Linked DNA regions of Homo sapiens: region 1 is linked to region 2. The links are contacts of gene promoters, found by promoter capture Hi-C in human tissues and cell types (Jung and others, 2019). All regions are on one chromosome and are shown on one strand. Each heading gives the region's core, a stretch centred on a gene start or on the middle of the fragment in contact. The rest is flanking DNA. Distances are from core to core; before and after follow the strand shown. Region 1 holds the start of GEM (GTP binding protein overexpressed in skeletal muscle). Region 2 overlaps CIBAR1 (CBY1 interacting BAR domain containing 1).

The links. Contacts are between HindIII fragments. The study calls those that stand out against the background at their distance.
Region 1: a contact is called between the fragment with the promoter of GEM here and a fragment that was not itself captured in region 2, in 1 of the 25 tissues and cell types used here (hippocampus).

What each region holds. Positions count from the first base shown.
Region 1 is chr8:94,260,751-94,265,893 of GRCh38, reverse strand. GEM (GTP binding protein overexpressed in skeletal muscle) reads left to right here and starts at 3,575. Exons shown (of 5, transcript NM_005261.4): 1 at 3,575-3,804. RefSeq lists a silencer at 4,264-4,333. The HindIII fragment of the contact is 10,611 bases long and covers 1-5,143 here.
Region 2 is chr8:93,730,444-93,735,407 of GRCh38, reverse strand. It overlaps CIBAR1 (CBY1 interacting BAR domain containing 1), which reads right to left. Exons shown (of 9, transcript NM_145269.5): 9 at 3,881-4,964. RBM12B (RNA binding motif protein 12B) reads left to right here. Exons shown (of 4, transcript NM_001377960.1): 4 at 1-4,964. The coding sequence ends at 2,003. Among named protein-coding and RNA genes, the nearest start is that of RBM12B-AS1, 7.2 kb to the left of the region's middle. The HindIII fragment of the contact is 4,463 bases long and covers 732-4,964 here.

The DNA.
Region 1 (5,143 bases), core at 2,326-4,825, 530 kb before region 2:
CCACTGAGTAGCATTTACTTGATGGCTTGGGCAAGCATGACCTTGGTTGTAGTAAGTCTATAGTATAGATGATTCTGTTGCTTTTAGATTCTGTTGCTTTTGGAATAGAATTACAGCTTTTAGAATAGTATAATGGACCCAGGCATGTACAGATCCTGAGCCTACCCATCATCTCTCCTCTCTTAGAGTTTTCAAGACATGGTATTCAAAGTAATATTATCTTAATGTCTGTGCAAGTCCCAGATGCCCTTATTTACAACCCTGGTCAAAGGTCCTATTCTTTCCCTACGTCTTTCCTTCCTTTCTCATCCTATTTGAAATCATGGGAACTGGTTGCTCAAGTCTACATGCTAAGTGACAGTGACAGTGGCAGAGTAGTAGGCAGAGTCCCCAAACAGACCCCAACTTCACCTTCTGCCCTAGGGCAGGGATGTGGAGAAAAGAGAGAGGAAAGGATGGCTCATGCCTTTAAGTAGAGTAACTCGGCCCACTAGGAACAGGTGGCCCAGTGAAGGTCATGGGCTTTGGCCAATCAGACAAAAACTTCTCCTTTGAGGGTTTTAGGAAGGTGGTAGGCCAAGGTGGGGCTAGTATGGGAATGAGGACTGACGTATATCCCCTACTCTAAATAGAACAGCAGTTAAGACTGTGGCCCCAGAGAGTACACATCTGCCACCTAACCACCCTGTGACCCTGGGCTGGTTATTTAACCCTCATTCCTCAGCACCTTTCCCCATAGAATATGGGTAACTGTAGGGGTGATGCGGATTAGCTGAGATAGGCATGCATTTTGGTAAGTAAATGTGAGTTATTTTTGTTGCTTTGAATTCTGCCTCTTTGCTATACTCTTGAGCTACTCATTGTAGCTAGAAACTGAGGAAGCCTTCAAATGCTGGCAGAAAGAATATGGAGAGAATAATTCATAGAACAAAAGACAACTTTCTGCCAATTTTTCCTCTTCAAAACTTGCCACTTACCCAAATGCCCTGATTCTACCTTTTCTCTCCAGCTCCACACCCTCAAGATGATCCCAGTGAGCTGGAATCCTGGTCGAGGGATCTGAGACTTGGCTAGATGAGATTTGGCGCTCAGATGTGCTTTTTGTGAAGTATAACTATGATTTTTCTCTAAATAATTACTCAAACTTAACTTTTAGTCAAGACTCTTCTTAAGTAGTGTTCTTGTTTGTGTTCATGTGGCTTCTTGTGAGACAGACAATTTAAAAAATTTAAAAATTGTTCTATTATCCAAACACAACATTGCTGTGTGCCCCTTCCCTTTCCCCAGTCCCTGGAGTTCATTTTCTTTTGTATGTTTCACATATACCAATGACAAATAGTTCATAGTAGATATTGCCTAGGTATGGAATTAGTTTTTTTTTTGTTTGTTTTGTTTGTTTGTTTTGAGATGGAGTCTTGCTGTGTCGCCCAGGCTGGAGTGCAATGGCACGATCTCGGCTCACTGCAACCTCTGCCTCCCAGGTTCAAGCGATTCTCCCGCCTCAGCCTCCTGAGTAGCTGGGATTACAGGCATCCACCACCATGCCCGGCTATTTTTTTGTATTTTTAGTAGAGACAGGGTTTCATTACGTTGGCCAGGCTGGTCTTGAACTCCTGACCTCGTGATCCACCCACCTCAGCCTCCCAAAGTGCTAGGATTACAGGCGTGAGCCACTGTGCCTGGCCAGAATTAGGTTTTTATAAATGTGAAGTATTAGATTCTTATCAATCGGCAAAAGTAGAACTGAGGAACTATATCATATGCTTATAAACTGATTTCTTCTTAGTTTTTACTCCTATGATGTTTCTGTTGAGACCAGTTGACAGAGTAGGAGTGTCAGTATGGAAAAAGCATGGATCATTTTGAAACATGGATTATTCATCAATTACATGTGTTTTAGAATGGAGTCAGTGATATACTCTTGGAGATGATCTCCCCCACCCCCCATCTCCTCTCCTTTTCCTTTCCCCACATCTGTAGCCACTTCCTGTCAGCGAAACCCAGAAGAAAAACTTGACAGAAGCAAAGGGCATCCAGAGAATTATGATCCCCAGGTTGTAGTTCCAGTTCTGTCATGTCCTAAGCGGTCATCTCCTCTCTGGGTCTCAGGTTTCTTATGTATAAGATAAGTAGGAGATTGGGGCCACAACACCTGAGACTAAAGGAATTCTAAGTTTTCATTACTCTATGGATTCCACCTTTGCTAGCTTGGGACCTGGCAGGTCTCAGCAGCTGGTCATGTAGCTAATTCTCAAAGCAGATAAATGCCTGCAGGATAACTGTGAATTGACTCTAATCACAGCAGAGTCCAGCTGCTTCAATAGATGCTGGTGCCTTTGGCTGCTTCCCGGAGCCACCAGCCAACCCAGAGTTGAAGCTGGCTGGAAAAGCAGATATGTTGGAGAGGCCAGCATCATCTCTAAACACAGCATCTGGGAAATACCCATGTCCCCAGAAAGAGGTCATTGAAATCCTTCACTTGGTGGTGCAGTGCAGAGACTCAGGAAAACCAGGCTTTGAGTCCTGACCCTGCCACTTATACCAGCGGTGTGACCTTGGGCAAATTCTCTGGCCCTATGTTATCTTCCTCCTCCATACAATGAGGGTAGAAATAGAGCCACCTTGCAGAAGTATAGTAAGGATTAAGGTCCCAGGAGGCCTAACAGTACCTACTAAGCAGAGGTCCTCAGAGGTACTTAATAAATGGTAGTAGTAGTTATTATCCTGTGCCCTTTGTTCACAGGAGTCTCTTACAGGGGTGTTGGTCTCAGTGCTCCTCCCCATGGCCAGGCTGTATTGGCTCATGCCCAAGGCGTAGCCTTGCCAGGGAGCCTGGTACAGAGATGCTGCTGATTGGGATGCTGATTAAATTCCCTGATTGAGGAGCCTCAGCATTCTGGCCCAGAGCAGGAGGGCCAGCAATATTTAGCACAATCTGCTTGGATCCTCAATTAAATTGTTTTTCCAAACTGCCCTTTTCAAGGTCTTGTCCTCTTTCCTCACCTCTTTCTGGCCCCTTCTCTCTGGGTCCTTGCCAGAGAAGGGAAACAAAGCCTTGTGGGGCTCCATCTGCTTCCCCCTATCCAGAAGAAGGTGACAAGGCTGTCTTCGTTGCAGAAGATGTGGTTAAAACAAGCCTTGGCTATTCAAGGTGGCTGCAGTCTCATCCTGGAGGCTAAAGTCTCTGCGCATTCCAGGTTGATCTCTGTTTTCTTGGCAAAACTGAGTTCTCAACTCAAACCTGCCTCTCCCTTCCATCCTTTATCCCGACAGCTCGCAAGTGCTTTGCTGGGAAGGACGATTAAGTGTCACTTAGTGTATTTTTCCATTTTCCTGTGTTCATCTGGTAAAAAGAAAATAAAACAAAATAAAGGAGGCCCAGGATTGAACTGTCATTATTTTTTAAATGGAGAGAGAAGGGGTCACATGACTGCGAGTAACTGATTTAGCCAAGTGGCTGCAACTCCGAGTTTGCTGCAGAGCCGCCCCCTCCCGGCGGGGGCGCTGACGTCACGGAAAAGCCCCGCGGCGGGTCGGCTGGGCTGGTTATAAACCGCCCGGCCGCGGCGGCTGCAGGCGGCGGGCAAGGACGGCGGGCACAGCGCAGCACTCCCCGCTCGTTGGCCCGGGTATCCCAGCGCGGACCCACGCGATACGCTGACGCCCCGACGCCGATCCGGCCGAGCCAAGTAAGGGGGACGGCCCGAGACGGAGAAGGGAGAGAGTGGGAGTTTCCCAGCCCGCAGAACTTTCGAAGTTGAGAAAAGAACCCCTGGAACGTGCGCTCAGCACTGGGATTTTCTGGTAGGGGTCAGAGCTTCAAGTGCAAAGGATGTCGCTTCTCATCAGCAGGTTCCTTAGTTCAATTCGGTAGAAGGGTCACCTCCCTCTACAGATCGAGTGGTCAGAGAGGGCAGCCCTTAATGATGCTTTATGTATTTGTTGTTTGAATGTAAGTCTGCCAACTGAGGTGCTGCTTTTGAGACTAAAAAACCGGCTGGTCGTCCTGGTTAGTGGCGAGATGTTGGGGTACGGAGTGTGGGGGTGAGGGTGGGAGAGGAGTGTTTGTGCATCTTGCTGATTGCAACGTAAGTACTTATACTTTATCACCAGTAGCCGGAAAAACAGACCTCCCGGCTAGGGGAGGCAGTCTGCAAAGGGAAAGTTGTAGAGAAGTTGTTGAATATCATTTAGGGGAGTCTTCAGCCTTCTGATTTGCTTCAAGAAGGGGATCTGAGAATGGTGGCTCAGGCCTGTGATCTCAGCACTTTCGGAAGCCGAGGCAGGAGGATCACTTGACCCCAGGAGTTCGAGACCAGCCTGGGCAACATAGTGAGGCCACTGTCTCTACCAAAAAATAAAAATAAAAATAAAAAAACTAGTGGACGTGGTAGTGCAGGTCTGTAGTCCCAGCTACTTGGGAGGCTGAAGTGGAGGATCTCTTGAGCCTGGCAGTTGGAGGCTAGCTACAGTGAGCTATGATCGTGCCACTGCACTCCAGCCTGGGTGACAGAGCAAGACCCTGACTCAAAAAAGGAATCTGAGTTGAATTAAAGAACTCTTGAGAATGGATGTGGTTTTTTAAGAATGAGGCACTTTCTCTGCAAATTTCATAGGTCTGAACATGAGCAGGTCATTTCTCTGCCAGGGTGTCTAGGTTTGGAGCCGGGATGTTTTAAAAGTGGTATCTGTGGGTAAGAGGGCACAGCTGAGGCATAAACTTTAAACAGAAAATTTCCCCCCTACCCCCAATAATGGCAGGTGGATGCTCTCCAGGCAGCTGGAGAGCATCAAGGCAACTTTACTAAACATGGAAGTTCCAATAAGTGCCTGTCCAGTCCAGCCAGGGTTGCAGTGGGCAGGGGAGGGGAGGGTGATGTCATTGCCACGTGTTTCCCACTGAGGCACAAAACCTGCTGGACACTGGTGCAATTAAGAGCCAAGTTTAGACAAGAGCAGCTAACCTGACCAGCTGGTCCCCAGCAACATTAACTTGTTGCTTTTCAAGCCATCTTTGGAGTCTGCTGGTTCTTTCCAGCTGCCTTTGTGCCAGCTCTGAGTGCAGCTCTTCTTTCATCCAAGTCTGCTTTGAGGAAGGGGGAAGCCCATGGGCAGTGGGTGATGTTAACCGTATTTGTTTTCC
Region 2 (4,964 bases), core at 1,714-4,213:
AAGACTATAATACCGCTCTGAGTTTACATAAGACTGTTTTACAATATCGTCCAGTTCATATTGATCCAATTTCTAGAAAACAAATGCTGAAGTTCATTGCACGTTATGAAAAGAAGAGATCAGGGTCACTAGAGAGAGATAGGCCCGGACATGTTTCACAAAAATACTCTCAAGAAGGTAACTCTGGCCAGAAACTGTGCATCTATATAAGAAATTTTCCATTTGATGTTACAAAAGTTGAAGTGCAGAAGTTCTTTGCAGACTTTCTTCTTGCTGAGGATGACATTTACTTGCTTTATGATGACAAAGGTGTTGGTCTGGGAGAAGCATTAGTGAAATTTAAATCAGAAGAACAGGCCATGAAAGCTGAACGTTTAAACCGACGAAGATTCCTAGGGACAGAGGTGTTATTAAGACTTATATCTGAGGCACAAATACAGGAGTTTGGTGTAAATTTTTCTGTGATGTCCAGTGAAAAAATGCAAGCTCGCTCACAGTCACGTGAGCGAGGTGACCATTCCCATTTATTTGACTCAAAAGACCCACCAATATACTCAGTTGGTGCTTTTGAAAACTTTAGACATCAGCTAGAGGACTTGAGGCAACTGGATAACTTCAAGCATCCCCAGAGGGATTTCCGGCAGCCTGACAGGCACCCTCCAGAAGACTTCCGACACTCCTCAGAGGACTTTAGGTTCCCCCCGGAGGACTTCAGGCACTCCCCAGAGGACTTCAGGCGACCTAGGGAGGAAGACTTCAGGCGGCCTTCTGAGGAGGACTTCAGGCGCCCTTGGGAGGAAGATTTCAGGCGCCCTCCGGAGGATGACTTCAGGCACCCTAGGGAGGAGGACTGGAGGAGGCCCCTTGAGGAGGACTGGAGGCGGCCACTGGAGGAGGATTTCAGGCGGTCTCCCACGGAGGACTTCAGGCAGCTCCCCGAGGAGGACTTCAGGCAACCCCCTGAGGAGGACTTAAGGTGGCTCCCAGAGGAAGATTTCAGGCGGCCACCTGAGGAGGACTGGAGACGGCCCCCAGAGGAGGACTTTAGGCGGCCTCTTCAGGGAGAATGGAGGCGACCACCCGAGGATGACTTCAGGCGGCCCCCAGAGGAGGATTTCAGGCATTCCCCTGAGGAGGACTTCAGGCAGTCACCCCAGGAGCATTTCCGGAGGCCACCTCAGGAGCATTTCCGTCGGCCACCCCCAGAGCATTTCCGGAGACCACCTCCAGAGCATTTTAGGCGGCCTCCCCCAGAGCACTTCCGGCGGCCACCCCCAGAGCACTTCAGGCGGCCACCCCCAGAGCATTTCAGGCGCCCGCCCCCGGAGCACTTCCGGAGACCGCCCCAGGAGCATTTCAGGCGGCCGCCTCAGGAGCATTTCAGGCGCTCCCGAGAGGAAGATTTCAGGCACCCACCAGATGAAGACTTCAGGGGCCCTCCTGATGAAGACTTTAGGCACCCTCCTGATGAGGACTTCAGGAGCCCCCAGGAGGAAGATTTTAGATGCCCTTCTGATGAGGACTTCAGGCAGCTCCCAGAGGAAGACCTTAGGGAAGCTCCGGAGGAGGACCCTAGACTTCCTGACAATTTTAGACCTCCTGGTGAGGATTTTAGGAGCCCGCCTGATGATTTTAGAAGTCACCGCCCTTTTGTGAATTTTGGTCGCCCAGAAGGTGGCAAGTTTGATTTTGGAAAGCATAATATGGGAAGTTTTCCTGAGGGGAGATTTATGCCTGATCCAAAAATAAATTGTGGTTCAGGTAGAGTAACTCCTATTAAGATAATGAATCTTCCATTTAAAGCTAATGTGAATGAAATTTTAGACTTTTTCCATGGTTACAGAATCATACCTGATTCAGTTTCGATACAGTATAATGAGCAAGGCTTACCTACAGGGGAAGCCATTGTTGCTATGATAAACTATAATGAAGCTATGGCTGCTATTAAAGATCTAAATGATAGGCCAGTTGGGCCCCGAAAAGTTAAGTTAACTTTGCTGTAGAGAGAGAGCATTTCTAAATTCAGTTATCTTCCTTGCAGTATTGATGGAGTAAAATACATTTGTTTTAAAAAAGTGTTTTTTTTTTAAATTATCTAATGAAATATTTTATTTTTGACCTGTGAATAGAACAAATGTAAATAGTAGAATGTGAATCTGGTTTTCTTTTGCTTGCAAATTGCCATTCTTTTTTTTTTTCAAATTTAAAATTACACATGCTGTTTTTTTCTTTGATGGGGAGAAAGAACTCATTCCCTGAGTTCATTCATTTTTGTTGATGTCATCGGTAATCTTCAAGACTTATTGAAGTAGAGTTGTATTTGGGGAAGATACATTTTATATTCACTTTTTTTTTTCTTTCTGTAGTCTACCTCTTTTACTCAAACTGTATAAGGAAATAGTGACTGATTGTTCAGGTTTGGCATTTTCATTGCTACCTGCCTGCAGAATTAATGCCCTCTTCCTTGTCTAAGATATTACTGTGTTAAGTGTCCTGTTAATTATAAATAGTTCAAAATGGACAGACTGTCAACTTGAAATTTACTTATGTAAAAAGCTTAGGTGATTCTTAGGGTTTCCATGTTCATAACTTTACAAAGCTTTATAAAAATAAAATTGCAACTTAATAGAGCTAATTAACTTGTATTTGTATAAAAAGAAAAAAGAATTGCAGCTCGATATTGTGAAGTTTTTCAATAACTTCATTAAACCATATTTATGATGGGAGGGACCAGACATTCTATAGTAATAATGTATAGTGCTGTGTATAATTCCATGGTTTCTTCAACATCTTATCAACCAAGTAAAATTAATACAAGATACGCAAAAGATAGTAAAATAAGAATCTAATTATAGGTGCAAGGGGACTCAGGCTTATGCTGGAAGAATCTGACAAGTGGTATAGTTTGTTTTTCTAGGAAGAATTTACTGATGAGTCACATAACTTGCATGTAATATTAGGTTCTCATTTTTTAGCTTCGAAACTGTGTCCATGCAAAGACTCTATAACTGTTAAGACTTGTGTGGTTGAATTTTGACTTCTTTGATATTCAGCATTTAGTGCATACATTTTGCAACTAGGGAATTTGATTTTCTATACCCACAATAATATTTATGGCTAACATTTATTAGGCACTTACTATGTGCTAGGCACTGTAAGCACTTTACATGCATAATCTCGGTATTCCCTGTGAGTACAGGGTTAATTATTTACCTCTATTTCACAAATGAGATAATGAAGTGGGATGAAGTGCGAGGTTAAGCAACTTGCTTGAAGTCATAGGTAGTAAATCGTGGGGCCAATTTTAACCCAGACAGACCACTGACTCCAGTTCATGCTTTTGCTGCCTCACTTTTTTAAGTGGTATTTTTAATTAGGAAGACCATGCTAAAGATACTTTCAAGGATAAATGATTATTTTCTCACTTCAATTGTTGGTTTAAAATTAGCATAAATAGGTAAAACCAGCATGCTCAAACACTGAGCTCAAACATTAACATTACTAATAAAAAAAAAAAGAGTGACTTTAAAAGTTTCTTTCTATCCAGGGTTTCTCTTGGGATACTCATATGGTATATTACTGGCTTATATTTCAAAATTATTTTATTCAACATGATTGACTTTGGCCTTTTATAATTTACATAAAACATAATTTTCCTCAGTTCTGTAATCCAGATTTTCCCCATTGAGTAAATAATACAATTAAATTTACATATGGTAATTTAGACATTTAATAGGATATTGCATAGGTAGAATACTTTGTCAGTACTTAGTTACTACCTATATGTATTTTTGTGTTACTTTTCAGTGATTTAAAGAAATCTAACAGAAATCTGCTTAAATTTGTTTTAAATAGTGAATATCCTGCTTGCTATGGAATGAATAAACAGGTAAATTTGATATGAAAAAGCACCTCAGTATGATTCTTTAAAGTATAAGCTTGTAAGTAGCTAGGATAATGTTAAATTGATTGTTTGGAATATCCAAACCAAGCACAATGAAGAAAGTAGAAATGATATTTTTAATTGAGCAAAGATTGTATAGATGGTTCATTTGGTCACCCATTTTGAATAATATATGGAAAGTTAAAAAATGCTTCTCAGATACAAAGGAATAAAGCTAAGATGAAGCTTAACGTGAGGGATTACTTACTGTGGAATTGCATTTCAAACTGGGCTGAGGTGGGATGGTGGTGGTAGATAAGAGGCCAGCTAGAGTAAACATAAGCTTTGTAGTTTTATTATTTTAAGAGTCAGAGTCTTGTTCTGCTGGCCAGGCTGGAGTGCAGTGGTCTGATAATGGTTCACTGCAGCTTCTAACTCCTGGGCTCAAGCTGTCTTCCTGCCTCAGCCTCCTGAGAGCTGGGACTACAGGTGTGTGCCACCTTGTCTGGCTAAATTTTTTATTATTTGTAGAGACAGAGTCTCACTGTGTTGCCCAGGCTGTTCTCAAATTTCTGGCCTCAAGCAATCCTCACTCCTTGGTCTCCCAGAATGTGTTGGGATTACAGGTGTGAGCCACTGTGCCCAGCCTTGTATTTTGATTTTTAAATTAATTTATATGAATATTTCCTTTTACCCTATAATGTATCAGGGCTTAATATTTTTAAACTTCATTATAAAAAGTTGATTACAGAAAGTGGTATCTTCTAGTTGGGAGCCATCTTTGCACATCTCTCTCCAACTCTGCCTTTAGTGATATGTCAATAACAAATTGGCCATGGCAGGAGTATTTTACACCATGGAAAGTGATAAATGCAGCAAATCAAGGAATTCCCCTCCTGTTGTCCCCTCAGAAAGCCAGCTTCCCAGCACCTCATCAATTTCAAATATAAAAAAAGAATAGTAAATTTTCATGTACACATCACTCAGCTTCAGTAATTGTCGTCTCATAGCCAGTTTTTCCTCTCCTATCCTCAAGGTATACCAGGTACACTGGAGGTGTATTCTCTAGCCTGATACCCAG